Linked DNA regions of Homo sapiens: region 1 is linked to region 2. The links are contacts of gene promoters, found by promoter capture Hi-C in human tissues and cell types (Jung and others, 2019). All regions are on one chromosome and are shown on one strand. Each heading gives the region's core, a stretch centred on a gene start or on the middle of the fragment in contact. The rest is flanking DNA. Distances are from core to core; before and after follow the strand shown.

Evidence for each region. Contacts are between HindIII fragments. The study calls those that stand out against the background at their distance.
Region 1: a contact is called between a fragment that was not itself captured here and the fragment with the promoter of RAMP2 in region 2, in 2 of the 25 tissues and cell types used here (heart left ventricle and hippocampus).

The regions. Positions count from the first base shown.
Region 1 is chr17:42,488,047-42,493,889 of GRCh38, forward strand. ATP6V0A1 (ATPase H+ transporting V0 subunit a1) reads left to right here. Exons shown (of 22, transcript NM_001130021.3): 11 at 2,441-2,591. Among named protein-coding and RNA genes, the nearest start is that of MIR548AT, 3.8 kb to the right of the region's middle. The HindIII fragment of the contact is 3,999 bases long and covers 889-4,887 here.
Region 2 is chr17:42,759,142-42,765,225 of GRCh38, forward strand. RAMP2 (receptor activity modifying protein 2) reads left to right here and starts at 2,086. Exons shown (of 4, transcript NM_005854.3): 1 at 2,086-2,217; 2 at 2,693-2,758; 3 at 3,214-3,322; 4 at 3,456-3,900. The coding sequence starts at 2,121. The coding sequence ends at 3,711. It overlaps RAMP2-AS1 (RAMP2 antisense RNA 1), which reads right to left and starts at 2,116. Exons shown (of 6, transcript NR_024462.1): 1 at 1,739-2,116; 2 at 1,494-1,570; 3 at 1,285-1,372; 4 at 598-739. RefSeq lists a silencer at 2,200-2,289. The HindIII fragment of the contact is 24,962 bases long and covers 1-6,084 here.

The sequences.
Region 1 (5,843 bases), core at 1,638-4,137, 270 kb before region 2:
AACTACTCTGTCCACAGAAGTGCTGTAAGTGCCTGGAGGAGTACAGAGATGTATAAAACATGCCCTCGAGTATCTTACAGTTTATTAGGAGAGTTCCAACTATGGAGTTGGAAAAAGCTTTAAGCAGGTGGCATTTGATCAGGTCTTTGAAGAATGATAAGTTGTTGGTAAGACTGCTGAATGAAGAGAAGAAAACAAAGGCAGGAAGTATGGTTAGACCATGTATGTTTGGACAAGAACAGGATTTACAGTGGGTTAGCTGAAGAGAAGTACCTGTCTGCATCAGGTAGTTTGGAACTTAATTGTGAAAGGTTCTTAAATAATAGCTTAGAAGATTTAAATTTTATTCCAGAGGAAGTTGAGAGACATTGGAAGTTCTTTAGGGGTAAAGGAACATGATCAAAGCAGTTTGGGTGGTTTTTTACATTTTTAATTTTGTGTTTGAGACAAGATCTTGCTCTGTTACCCAGGCTGGAGTGCAGTGGTGCCATCTCAGCTCACTTCAGCTTCCAACTCCTGGGCTTAAGCAATCCTCCCACTTCAGACTCCCGGTAGCTGGGACTACAGGTGCCCACCATCATGCGTGGCTAATTTTTTGTAGAGACAGGGTTTTGCCATGTTGCCCAGGCTGATCTCAAATTCCTGGGCTCGAGTGATCTGCCTTCCTTGGCCTTCCAAAGTGTTGGGGCCAGGCGTGGTGACTCACTCTTGTAATCCAGCACTTTGGGAGGTTGAGGCGGGTCATCACTTGAGGTCAGGAGTTTGAGACCAGCCTGGCCAACATGACAAAACCCCGTCTCTACTAAAAATACAAAAAAGTTAGCCAGGTATGGTGGTGGGTGCCTGTGATCCCAGCTACTCAGGAGGCTGAGGCAGGAGAACCACTTGAACCCAGGAGGCAGAGGTTGCAGTGAGCTGAGATCATGCCACTGCACTCCAGCCTGGACAGCAGAGTGAGACTCTGTCTCAAAAAAAAAAAAAAAGTGGGTCACCACGCCTGGTGGATCAAAGCAGTTTTTTTGTTTTTTGGTTTTTTTTTTTTTGAGATGGAGTTTTGCTCTTGTTGCCCAGGCTGGAGTGCAGTGGCATGATCTCGGCTCACTGCAACCTCCACCCTCCACCTCCCTGCTTCAAGTGATTCTCCTGCCTCAGCCTCCTGAGTAGCTGGGATTACAGGTGTGCGCCACCACACCCAGCTAATTTTTTGTATTTTTAGTGGAGACGGGGTTTCATCACGTTGACCAAGCTGGTGTCGAACTCCTGACCTCAGGTGATCCACCCGCCTCAGCCTCCCAAAGTGCAGGGATTACAGGCATGAGCCACTTCTCCTGGCTCAAAGCAGTTTTAAAAGAGTAATCTGCTGATAGTATCTAGGTTGGATTGAGGAGTGAAGAGATTCTGTAGGTAGGGGTTCAGTTAGGAGGTTATTGTAGACATAGAGTAGTAAATGATAAGGATCCCCAGGTAGGACTTGACAATGGGAAAAAAAATGATGAATTGTGAGATGTTCTGCAGGAAAAATCAATAGGGCTACCTGGTTCCTAGCAAGGTGCAGGAGAAATACAAGGAGAAAGATTTAAACATCTTTTTGAGGCATCAAAGCTGACTGGCCAGGAGAATTAGGGTTCCAATGAGGGAAGTAAATGTTCAGCCAGAGAAGCTTATTGATTGGGGAGAGATGGTAAGTTCAGTTCCGGGCACATTGAGGTCTATGTGGAAATGTCAAGCAGACAAGGGAACAAAGCTAAGGAAATGGGAGTCATGAGAATGGAAGGGAATGAGACCTCCAAGAGGGAGGTCATAGAGAGAAAAAAAAGGTTGGGGTCTTGCAATGCTATGAGATAGGCAGAGCAGAAATAACCAGCAAAGATAGAAAAGCAATGGTCAGCGAGCAGGAGGAGAACTCCTAAGGAAGAAGGATTTTCACCAAAGATCTCCAATGTCAGGGGCGTGCATGGGGGAGAGAAGCTCTTTGGTCAGGAGCCAGTCACTTTGCCTAAGCATGCTCAGCCAGACTGCAAGGGATCAGGAAGTTAAGAGAAGGTAGTGAAGAAGGAGAGCCAGAGAACATACTTTGCTTTCTCCATGAAAGGGGGAGAACAACTTTCATAAAAAGGCAGATATGGAGGCAGTTCCACATTTTCTTTGGTGACATATTTTAAAGTTAAATTTTTTTCACATTAAGGATGTATTTCAGAGGATCTAATAGAAATCTTCCATTATAAATGTTATACCTTTTCCCAGTTTTCCCAAAAGCTGGGAAAGATAATCTAGTTTTATTTTTAGGTTTATTAGTTTTATTGAGATATAATTTACATGAAAGAAAATACATACATTTTATGTGTACCATTTGATGAGTTTCAAGAAATGTACACCTGTGTAACCACTACCACAATTAGGAGGATAACCTAAGTTTGATAAATGTGCTAATGTTTTTCAGGAACACAGTGGTTCCACTGTACCTTCCATTTTGAACAGGATGCAGACAAACCAGACTCCCCCAACCTATAACAAAACCAACAAGTTTACCTATGGCTTTCAGAACATAGTAGATGCTTATGGAATTGGAACTTACCGAGAGATAAATCCAGGTAAAAAAAAGCTTGTTATCTTTTTCCTCTAGAGTTTTTTTTGTTTGTTTGGTTGGTTTGGTTTGTTTTGAGACAGAGTCTCCCTCTGTCACCCAGGCTGGAGTGCAGCAGCACGACTGTAGTTCACTGCAGCCTCAAACTCCTGGCCTCAAGAGATCCTCCCAACTCAGTCTCCTGTATAGCTAGGACCACAGGCGCACAGCACCACACCTGGCTAATTTTTTATTTTATGATTTTTTTTTGACTGGGTCTCATTCTGTTGCCTAGGCTGTAGTGCAATGGTGAAATCACGGCTTACAGCAGCCTCAACCTCGTGGGCTCAAGTGATTCTCCCGCCTGAACCTCTGGAGTAGCTGGGACTACAGGCATGTGTCACCATGCCTGGCTAATTTTTAAAATTTTTTTAGAGATGGGTTTTGCTATGTTGCCCAGGCTGATAATTTTTAATTTTTTTTAGAGACGGGGTCTTGTTATGTTGCCCAAGCTAGTCTTGGACTCCTGGGCTCAAGGAAGCCTCCTGCTTCAGCCTCCCAAAGTGCTGGGATTACAGGTGTGACCCACTATGCCTGGCCTTTTTGTTCATTGTTTCTTCTAATGCCTCACTTTAAATGCTGTTGAATAACTGAATTAAAATTAAAGATGTTAATCCTAGCACTGTTTTTTTAATTTAATTTTATTTTTAATTTTTTTTGAGACGGAGTCTCGCTGTGTCACCCATGCTGGAGTGCAGTGGCGTGATCTTGGCTCACCGCAAGCTCTGCCTCCCAGGTTCACGCCATTCTTCTGCCTCAGCCTCCCGAATAGCTGGGACTACAGGCACCCGCCACCATGCCCGGCTAATTTTTTTTTTATTTTTTTTAGGTGAGACAGAGATTTACTCTCGTTGCCCAGGCTGGAGTGCAATGGCACGATCTCAGCTCACCACATCCTCTGCCTCCCAGGTTCAAGCGATTCTCCTGCCTCAGCCTCCCGAGTAGCTGGGATTATAGGCATGTGCCATCACGCCCGGCTAATTTTGTATTTTTAGTCGAGACGGGGTTTCACCATGTTGCCCAGGCTGATCTCTAACTCCTGACTTCAGGTGATCTGCCTGCCTCTGCCTCCCCAAGTGCTGGGATTACAGACGTGAGCCACTGCGCCCGGCCATTTTTTTGTATTTTTAGTAGAGACAGGGTTTCACTGTGTTAGCCAGGATGGTCTCGATCTCCTGACCTCATGATCCACCCGCCTTGGCCTCCCAAAGTGCTGGGATTACAAAGTGCTGGGTGGCGTGAGCCACTGCGCCCAGCCAATCCTAGCACTTTTAGAGGCCGAGGTAGGAGGATTGCTTAAGCCCAGGATTTCAAGATCAGCCTGGGCAACATAGTGAGACCCCATCTCTATTAAAAAATAAATAAACATGTTGACACCTCAGATCTTGTGTACTCCCTGTGAAGAGGTGCTCATTCTGGCAGGGCATGGTGGCTCACGCCTGTAATCCCAGCACTTTGGGAGGCTGAGGCATGTGGATCACATGAGGTCAGGAGTTTGAGACCAGCCTGGCCAACATGGTGAAACCCTGCCTCTACTAAAAATACAAAAATTAGCCGGATTTGGTGGCATGCACCTGTAGTCCCAGCTACTCGGGAGGCTGAGGCCTGAGAATCACTTGAACCCAGGAGGCAAAGGTTGCAGTGAACCGACATCATGCCACTGCACTCCAGCTTGGGCAACAACAAAAAGATGCCCATTTAATGTAAGGGGCAGGTTTACTGTCAGGTAGCGTTCCTTTAAGAGTTCATCGGCTGGGCCAGGTGTGGTGGCTCACGCCTGTAATCCCAGCACTTTGGGAGGCCGAGGCAGGTGGATCACCTGAGGTCAGGAGTTCGAGACCAGCCTGACCAACATGGAGAAACCCCGTCTCTACTAAAAATACAAAATCAGCCAGGCATGGTGGCTCTTGCCTGTAATCTCAGCGACTCGGGAGGCTGAGGCAGGAGAATCACTTGAACCGGGGAGACGGAGGTTGCCGTGAGCCGATATTGCATTATTGCACTCCAGCCTGGGCAAAAAGAGTGAAACTCTGTCTCAAAAAAAAAAAAAAAAAAAAGTTCATCGGCTGGGCGTGGTGGTTCATGCCTGTAATCCCAGCACTTTGTGGGGACAAGGTGGAAGGATCACTTAAGGTCAGGAGTTCGAGACCAGCCTGGCCAACATGGTGAAACCCTATCTCTACTAAAAATACAAGAAAATTAGCCAGGCCTGGTGGTGCATGCCTGTAATCCCAGCTACTCAGGAGGCCTAGACAGGAGAATTGCTTGAACCCAAGAGACAGAAGTTATAGTGAGCCTAAATTGTGCCACTGCACTCCAGCCTGAGTGACAGAGCAAGACTCTGTCTCAAAAAAAAAGTTCATGAGACTGGATTCTTTCATGTGCCCTCACAGCCCTAAAACACCTGGACTTCTCTAGCAAATCATTTGCAGGAACTGTTTTAAGCAAAATGTTTCTTCTAAGATGTCTGATATTTTTAAATGGCTTTTTTTTTGGCTTCCCTGTTCCAAGGTTAGACAGAAAAAATGTAGCAAGTATTGGCCACTTTAGGTACAACACAGATTTCTCCTATATTTGGAGAGTTAATTATTAAATCAAGAGTGTGAGTATTCATTTTCAGTTGGAGCCCTATGGAAGAACTGCTTTGCTCTGGGCTCTCTCCATCTGTACGTTATCTGATATTTAGCTTTATATCACTGGGACATGGTTGCTGCACAAAGAGAAGACAGCTGGCCTGCCCTGGGAGCAGGGTCCCACGAGTTACAAGAGAGTCAGAGAACAAACCAATGTTGTCAAGGTTACACCTTCATTTCCACTGTTCTTTGTTTGAAATGTTATCAGAGCTGCCAGGCACAGTGCCTCATGCCTGTAATCTCGGATATTCAGGAGGCTGAGGTGGGAGGATTGCTCAAGGCCACAAGTTCAGGACTAGCTTGGGCAAAATAGTGAGATTCCATCTAAAAAAATATTATTTATCAGTAATTTTAAAACAAAATTAACTGGGCATGGTGGCACATACTTGTAGTTCCAACTGTTTGGGAGGCTGAGGTGGGAGGATAACTTGAGTCCAGGGGTTGCAGGCTGCAGTGAGCTGTGATGAAACCACTGCACTCCAGCCTGGGTGGCAGAGAAAGACCCCATCTCTCTTTTAAAAAAAGTTATCAGTAGCTCAAATTTCATTAGCTACTTTGTGAAGATGTGTTGATTCTGCCATGAAAGA
Region 2 (6,084 bases), core at 836-3,335:
AACCTGCTCAAGTTACTTGCAGTAAGACAGAGGCAGAACCTACCTTCAGAATCCTCATCAGTTTTTTTCTTTCATCCGTTATGATTATCCATTATCATTATGCCATATTGTCCTTTTTTTTTTTTTTTGAGATAGGGCACAATCACAGCTCTCTGCAGCCTCAACCTCTGGGGCTCAAGTGATCCTCCTGCCTCAGCCTCCCGAGTAGCTGGGACTACAGGTGCACACCACTATGCCAGGCTAATTTTTTAAAAATTTTTTTATAGTTTTTTTTTTGTAGAGACAGGGTTTCACTATGTTGCCCAGGCTCTATTTTAAATCTAACATTTGCTTTTGTCCCCTTTAATCTTGACCCCAACCCCAGTCCTAACCCATAGTGGGCTCATGTGCTTCTGGCCCCAACCCAGTGAAAATGGCTTGTTTTGCTTTCTGCACCTCCTTGCTCCTTCCTCCCATCTTATCACTCAGAAATCTCCCATGCTTCCTTCTTGAAAGGAGCAATCCTAGGCAGGCAGGAAGGACTAGATTTGGTCCCAGCCTGAAATGTCTCAGAGACTGCATGGCTCTTTTCTGCATCATTGTAGAAATGATCCTTACCAGGAGGACTTTGGAGTTCACGTCAAGCAGGCCATTGACTCTCTCCCACTGGATTCTTTGCAAAAGCAGCCTCTTGACCATAGAGGAGGACAACAGGTTATCCGTGCCCATGATCCAAGAGCTTGAGATCCTGAGATGAAGACTTCAGGAGAGATCAGGACAGATAATTTGTGGTGGGCAGGAATCAGTAAACTGGGACAACAGCAGCAGCTGAGTCCAAGGGTCAGTGTCTGGGAGTAATTTAGGAAAGTTTGGTGCTGACAGCTGTGTCTGGGACTTGAACGTCATGGCCAAACCAGCTCCTGGGCTCCTCAGCTGCTTCAGACTAATGAACCTCTGGCCCAGGACACAAGAAGCAGCTGTGGTGTGGCTGAAGTCAGGACCCCCGGAGGCCCAGACTCAGCCTTGCTGCTTCCTTAACAGTGTGACCTTAGATAAGTCACTTAGGAAAAGAGGAAAGGAAACTAGCATTTAGCGAGTGCAGTGCCCTTTCACAGCTGCCATCATACAGTGAGGAGGGGAATGTCCCTATTTCACATGAGAAGTCCTGAAGGTAAACGTGTCATTCAAGGCTCTATAGCTGGGGAGTAAGAAGACAGAATTAGAACCCAGAGCTTCTGAATTCAAATCCCGGGCTGTTGGCCCTGAGCTTTAGCTTCTCGGTCTGTAAAATGGTGTTACACTCACCTGGCACATGAAGTCGCACACTGAAGGTTCTAAAACCCCTCCATTCTTTCTCCCAACCGTGGTCCTGAAGAGCTGTGGCACCTTCTTCCTGGGAACGTAGTCATCGTATTTTGCCCTCCCCACAACAGGTTTGTGGGGTCTAGGCCCCAGGAGGTGTCTGAAGGGAAGGTATTTGGACTTTGCTTTCCCCTCTACCCCACTCCCCAGACCTTCTCCCGACTCCAGAGGGCTGGCTCCCGCTTCTCCTCCCTGGTTTTGGCTGGCGGACTGACATCAGCTGGTATTCCTAGGGATAGGATAAGGAACCCTGAGCTGCATGGCTCAGCTCCAGGCGCCCCTTCCCCCACAACCCAGGACAGCCCCTTAGAAGCAGCGGCGTCGAGAGGCCGCTGGAGCTCCCAGCCCCCTCCCTCTTCTCCACGTCTGGGAGAGCAGCTTGCCGACCCCTCCAGACCCGAAAGAGAGAGGGGGCGACTCGAATTCGGGGAGCGATCCTGGGAGACCCTGGAGAGTCCTGGGCGCCACGCAGCCGAGCCCCCGAAATAGATCCCGGTTCCGGGGTTCCGGGAGCTGTCCAGCCTCGCGGGGTGAGCTACGAGAGGGTGGGCCAACGCCGGCGAGGCGGAGGGAGCCGCGGGCGCCAGGCGCGGGTGAGGCAGCGACTCCCCCTCCAGCCGCGGGCCCCGAGCGTCGCCCCCGCCCCCCACGTGGCCGCCGCCGTCCCAGCCCCTCCGAGGAAGCGGCGCGGCTTCCTGCAGCTTGGGCTGGGGATATAGGCGCCCCCACACCCGGGCCCGGCTCAGCGCCGCCGCCGCTCCTCGCCTCCTTGCTGCACGATGGCCTCGCTCCGGGTGGAGCGCGCCGGCGGCCCGCGTCTCCCTAGGACCCGAGTCGGGCGGCCGGCAGCGCTCCGCCTCCTCCTCCTGCTGGGCGGTGAGCGCGGCGCCCCGAGGCCCGGGCGGGAGGCGCGAGAGGCCCCGGAGGGGAGAGGGGAGAGGGGAGAGGGGCTGGATGGCCGAGGCCGGAACGGGCCCTGGGGTGCGGGTTAGGACCGACGTACCTAGCAGCACTGGCCCTCGGACGGTCCCTGACCCCACCTCGGGGCGGGCGCAGCATGAGCTGCTTCCCACCCAGGGAAAGCTGGGGTGCTGGCCCCGGCCCCTCGAAGAGGGCTTAGGAGGACGGAAGCTGGCCAGAGATGAGGGGGCTTTGGGCCTGGGTGTGAGTGACAAGGAGCTGGTGCCAGCCCCTCCCTCCCCGGCACTGAGGCGTCCGTGGGGGCTAGATTATTCCTCCTTTTCTTCCAAGGTAGCCTATTTTCGGAGGGTCTCAGTCCCCCAACCCCCCTCGCAGGCTCCACTGCCGGGGTCCCCGCTATGTTACCCTCCTCTCCCGTTTCTTCCCACAGCTGTCCTGAATCCCCACGAGGCCCTGGCTCAGCCTCTTCCCACCACAGGCACACCAGGGTCAGAAGGTGGGTACCCAGGGTGTGGAAGGGTGGCCGAGGGTAAGGACGAGAGCAAGTTCAGTGGGGAGGGTTCCTTTCCCACGAGGCCTGCCCAACCCCAGCTGATGCCCCACTACACTCCCCTCTGTTCTTTCTTGGGGTTCCTCGTGGTCTTTCTCCCTGTCCTCCTACAAAGCCCCTGCACGGCTCTGAGCTGCCCACCTCACAAGTGGGCGAGAAGACCCCAGGAAAAGGTGTACGTGGAAGTTCTTATCAGGCTGGGATGGAAAGTGCTTAGCACATGGAAGTCATTATAGGATTCCTGAGCTGGGACTCTGTCCTCAGCCAGAATGTTTTGCTAGGGAAACTTTCTGAAGGGTTCCCACGTTTGAAGACAGGCAGTTCACCTTGCAAGCACCTGGGCAGGAGGGTTTGTAGGGAGGGGTAGGGGTGTGGTCATTGTGTAGCATCTGTACCTACAGGGGGGACGGTGAAGAACTATGAGACAGCTGTCCAATTTTGCTGGAATCATTATAAGGATCAAATGGATCCTATCGAAAAGGATTGGTGCGACTGGGCCATGATTAGCAGGTAGGGGCAGTGATGGAGGGTGGCTCAGGCCAGGGGGTGGACCTGCTCATTGCAGGTAGACCCTGAGTGAGAGTGGGGCACTCTTCTCCCTGGGTCCACCCCCTCTCTCACTCAAGTCCTCTTCTGCCCCTAGGCCTTATAGCACCCTGCGAGATTGCCTGGAGCACTTTGCAGAGTTGTTTGACCTGGGCTTCCCCAATCCCTTGGCAGAGAGGATCATCTTTGAGACTCACCAGATCCACTTTGCCAACTGCTCCCTGGTGCAGCCCACCTTCTCTGACCCCCCAGAGGATGTACTCCTGGCCATGATCATAGCCCCCATCTGCCTCATCCCCTTCCTCATCACTCTTGTAGTATGGAGGAGTAAAGACAGTGAGGCCCAGGCCTAGGGGGCCACGAGCTTCTCAACAACCATGTTACTCCACTTCCCCACCCCCACCAGGCCTCCCTCCTCCCCTCCTACTCCCTTTTCTCACTCTCATCCCCACCACAGATCCCTGGATTGCTGGGAATGGAAGCCAGGTGGGGTCATGGCACAAGTTCTGTAATCTTCAAAATAAAACTTTTTTTTTGTACAATGTCCTTCTCCCCATTTCAGTGGAACCTGTGTCCTTCCCTGCCACTGCCACAGGCCCTCAGCCCTGGGTAGTAGAACTGGAAAAATCTGGATGGCCCATTGTTCTGTTCATTTCACCTGCCCCCCTGCTCCCTGCCTCCATGAAGGTCACACCCCTATATTCTTTCCTCCCAGGCGGGCCTTTCCTGCCTATATCCAAACTCGGCTCCAGGAAACAAGCAGGAAGAGACTCCCTTCCGGTCTGGACAGCAGCTGGGGGCCTGCAACTGGGGAGGTGTGGGGGAAGGGGCAAGGGAGGAATCTCTGCTTGTGACTCCTGCAAGAGGAGCAGGAGGCTGCCCAGGAGCCCTGACTATTCCTCTTCTTCATGCTTCAGTTTACTCACAGGGCCTGGGAAGAGGAACCCTGACTGAGCAACAGGAATCCATTCCTAAGGCCCTCACAATTGAGGGAGAAAGCAGTGGGGGCTTCCTTTACTAGGTTCACCACCCCTCTCCATGTCCCTTGCCCTCATCCTACATTGTCCTGGACTGGGTGTGGCCTGCAGCCTAGCAACACACTGCCCCCTGGTGTCCACTAAAGCCAGCAACCAGAAGACGTATCTGATCTGGAAGAAGCTCAAGGCTGAGGAGCACTGGACCCTGGGGTCAGAAAACTGCCATCTCTACAGCAATCACTAGTTCCTTGTTTGTTTGTTTGTTTGTTTGTTTGTTGAAACAAGGTCTCATTCTGTCACCCAGGCTGGAGTTCAGTGGCACAAACATGGCTCACTGCAGCCTCGACCTCCTGGGCTCAAGGATCCTCCCATCTCAGACTTCCAAGTAGCTGGGACCACAGGCGTGAGCCACCATGCCCAGCTAATTTTTTTTTTTTTTTTTTTTTTTTGAGATGGAGTCTTGCTCCGTCACCCAGGCTGGAGGGCAGTGGCATGCTCTCGGCTAACTGCAAACTCTGCCTCCTGGTTCATGCCATTCTCCTGCCTCAGCCTCCAGAGTAGTTGGGACTACAGGTGCTCGCCACCACGCCCGGCTAATTTTTTGTATTTTTGGTAGAGACAGGGTTTCACTGTGTTATCCAGGATGATCTCGATCTCCTGACCTCATGATCCACCCACCTCGGCCTCCCAAAGTGCTGGGATTACAGGCACGAGCCACCACACCCGGCCTAATTTTTTTTTTAAGTTTTTTTATACAGATGGGGTCTCACCGTGTTGCCCAGGCTAGTCTTGAACTCCTGGCCTCAAGTGCTCCTCCCCAGTCAGTCTCCCAAAGTGCTGGGATTACAAGCATGAGCCTGCTGTGCCTGCACAACCACTAGTTCTTAGCTGGACCCCGCTATCAGCTTCCTGAGACAAACAACACTCTCTTCAGATACCTTCCTACTTTCTAGGATCATACCCAGCCCCTCTCTACAAGTCACCATTGCTGTATATGAACACACCTATATGTTCCCTGGATAGTGAGGCCCATTTCTTACCAGGTAACCTACACCTTCAACTCTCCATCAGACACAACTGCCAGGTCTCCAAAAATATCTCCAAAACAACTTTATTCTCCATGGATACATCTGTTTACTCCTTGTGGCACCCCGAGCCTCTTTAGGGACTTTCCTTCTTGTTGAAATATCTGCCTTCTTGAGTACATGCATGTCCATTTCTTGGGGTATCCTGCCTTTTCCATATATGCTTGTATGATTCCTGGAACATGCCTATTCATTCTCTGAGACACACATCTCTCAGGGTGCATCTGTTTTTCTAGGCACACATATGTTCCCTAAAAATATTTTGAGTTTTCTGACCGGGCGCGGTGGCTGACACCTGTAATCCCAGCACTTTGGGATGCCAAGGCTGGTGGATCACCTGAAGTCAGGAATTCGAGACCAGCCTAACCAATATGGTGAAACCCGTCTCTATTAAAAATACAAAAATTAGCCAGGCGTTGGGGTGTGTGTTTGTAGTCCCACTACTTAGGAGGCTGAGATAGGAGAATTGCTTGAACCTGGGAGGCAGAGGTTGCAGTGGGCCAAAGATCGCTCCATTGCACTCCAGCCTGGGTGACAGAGCGAGATTCTGTCTCAAAAAAAAGTATATATATTTTGAGTTTTCACCTGAAATACAGGTTTCCTTAATTTCCATGAATGCATCTGTCTTCCCTAAAGGTATATCTACTCCCTTTGTAGCATGTAT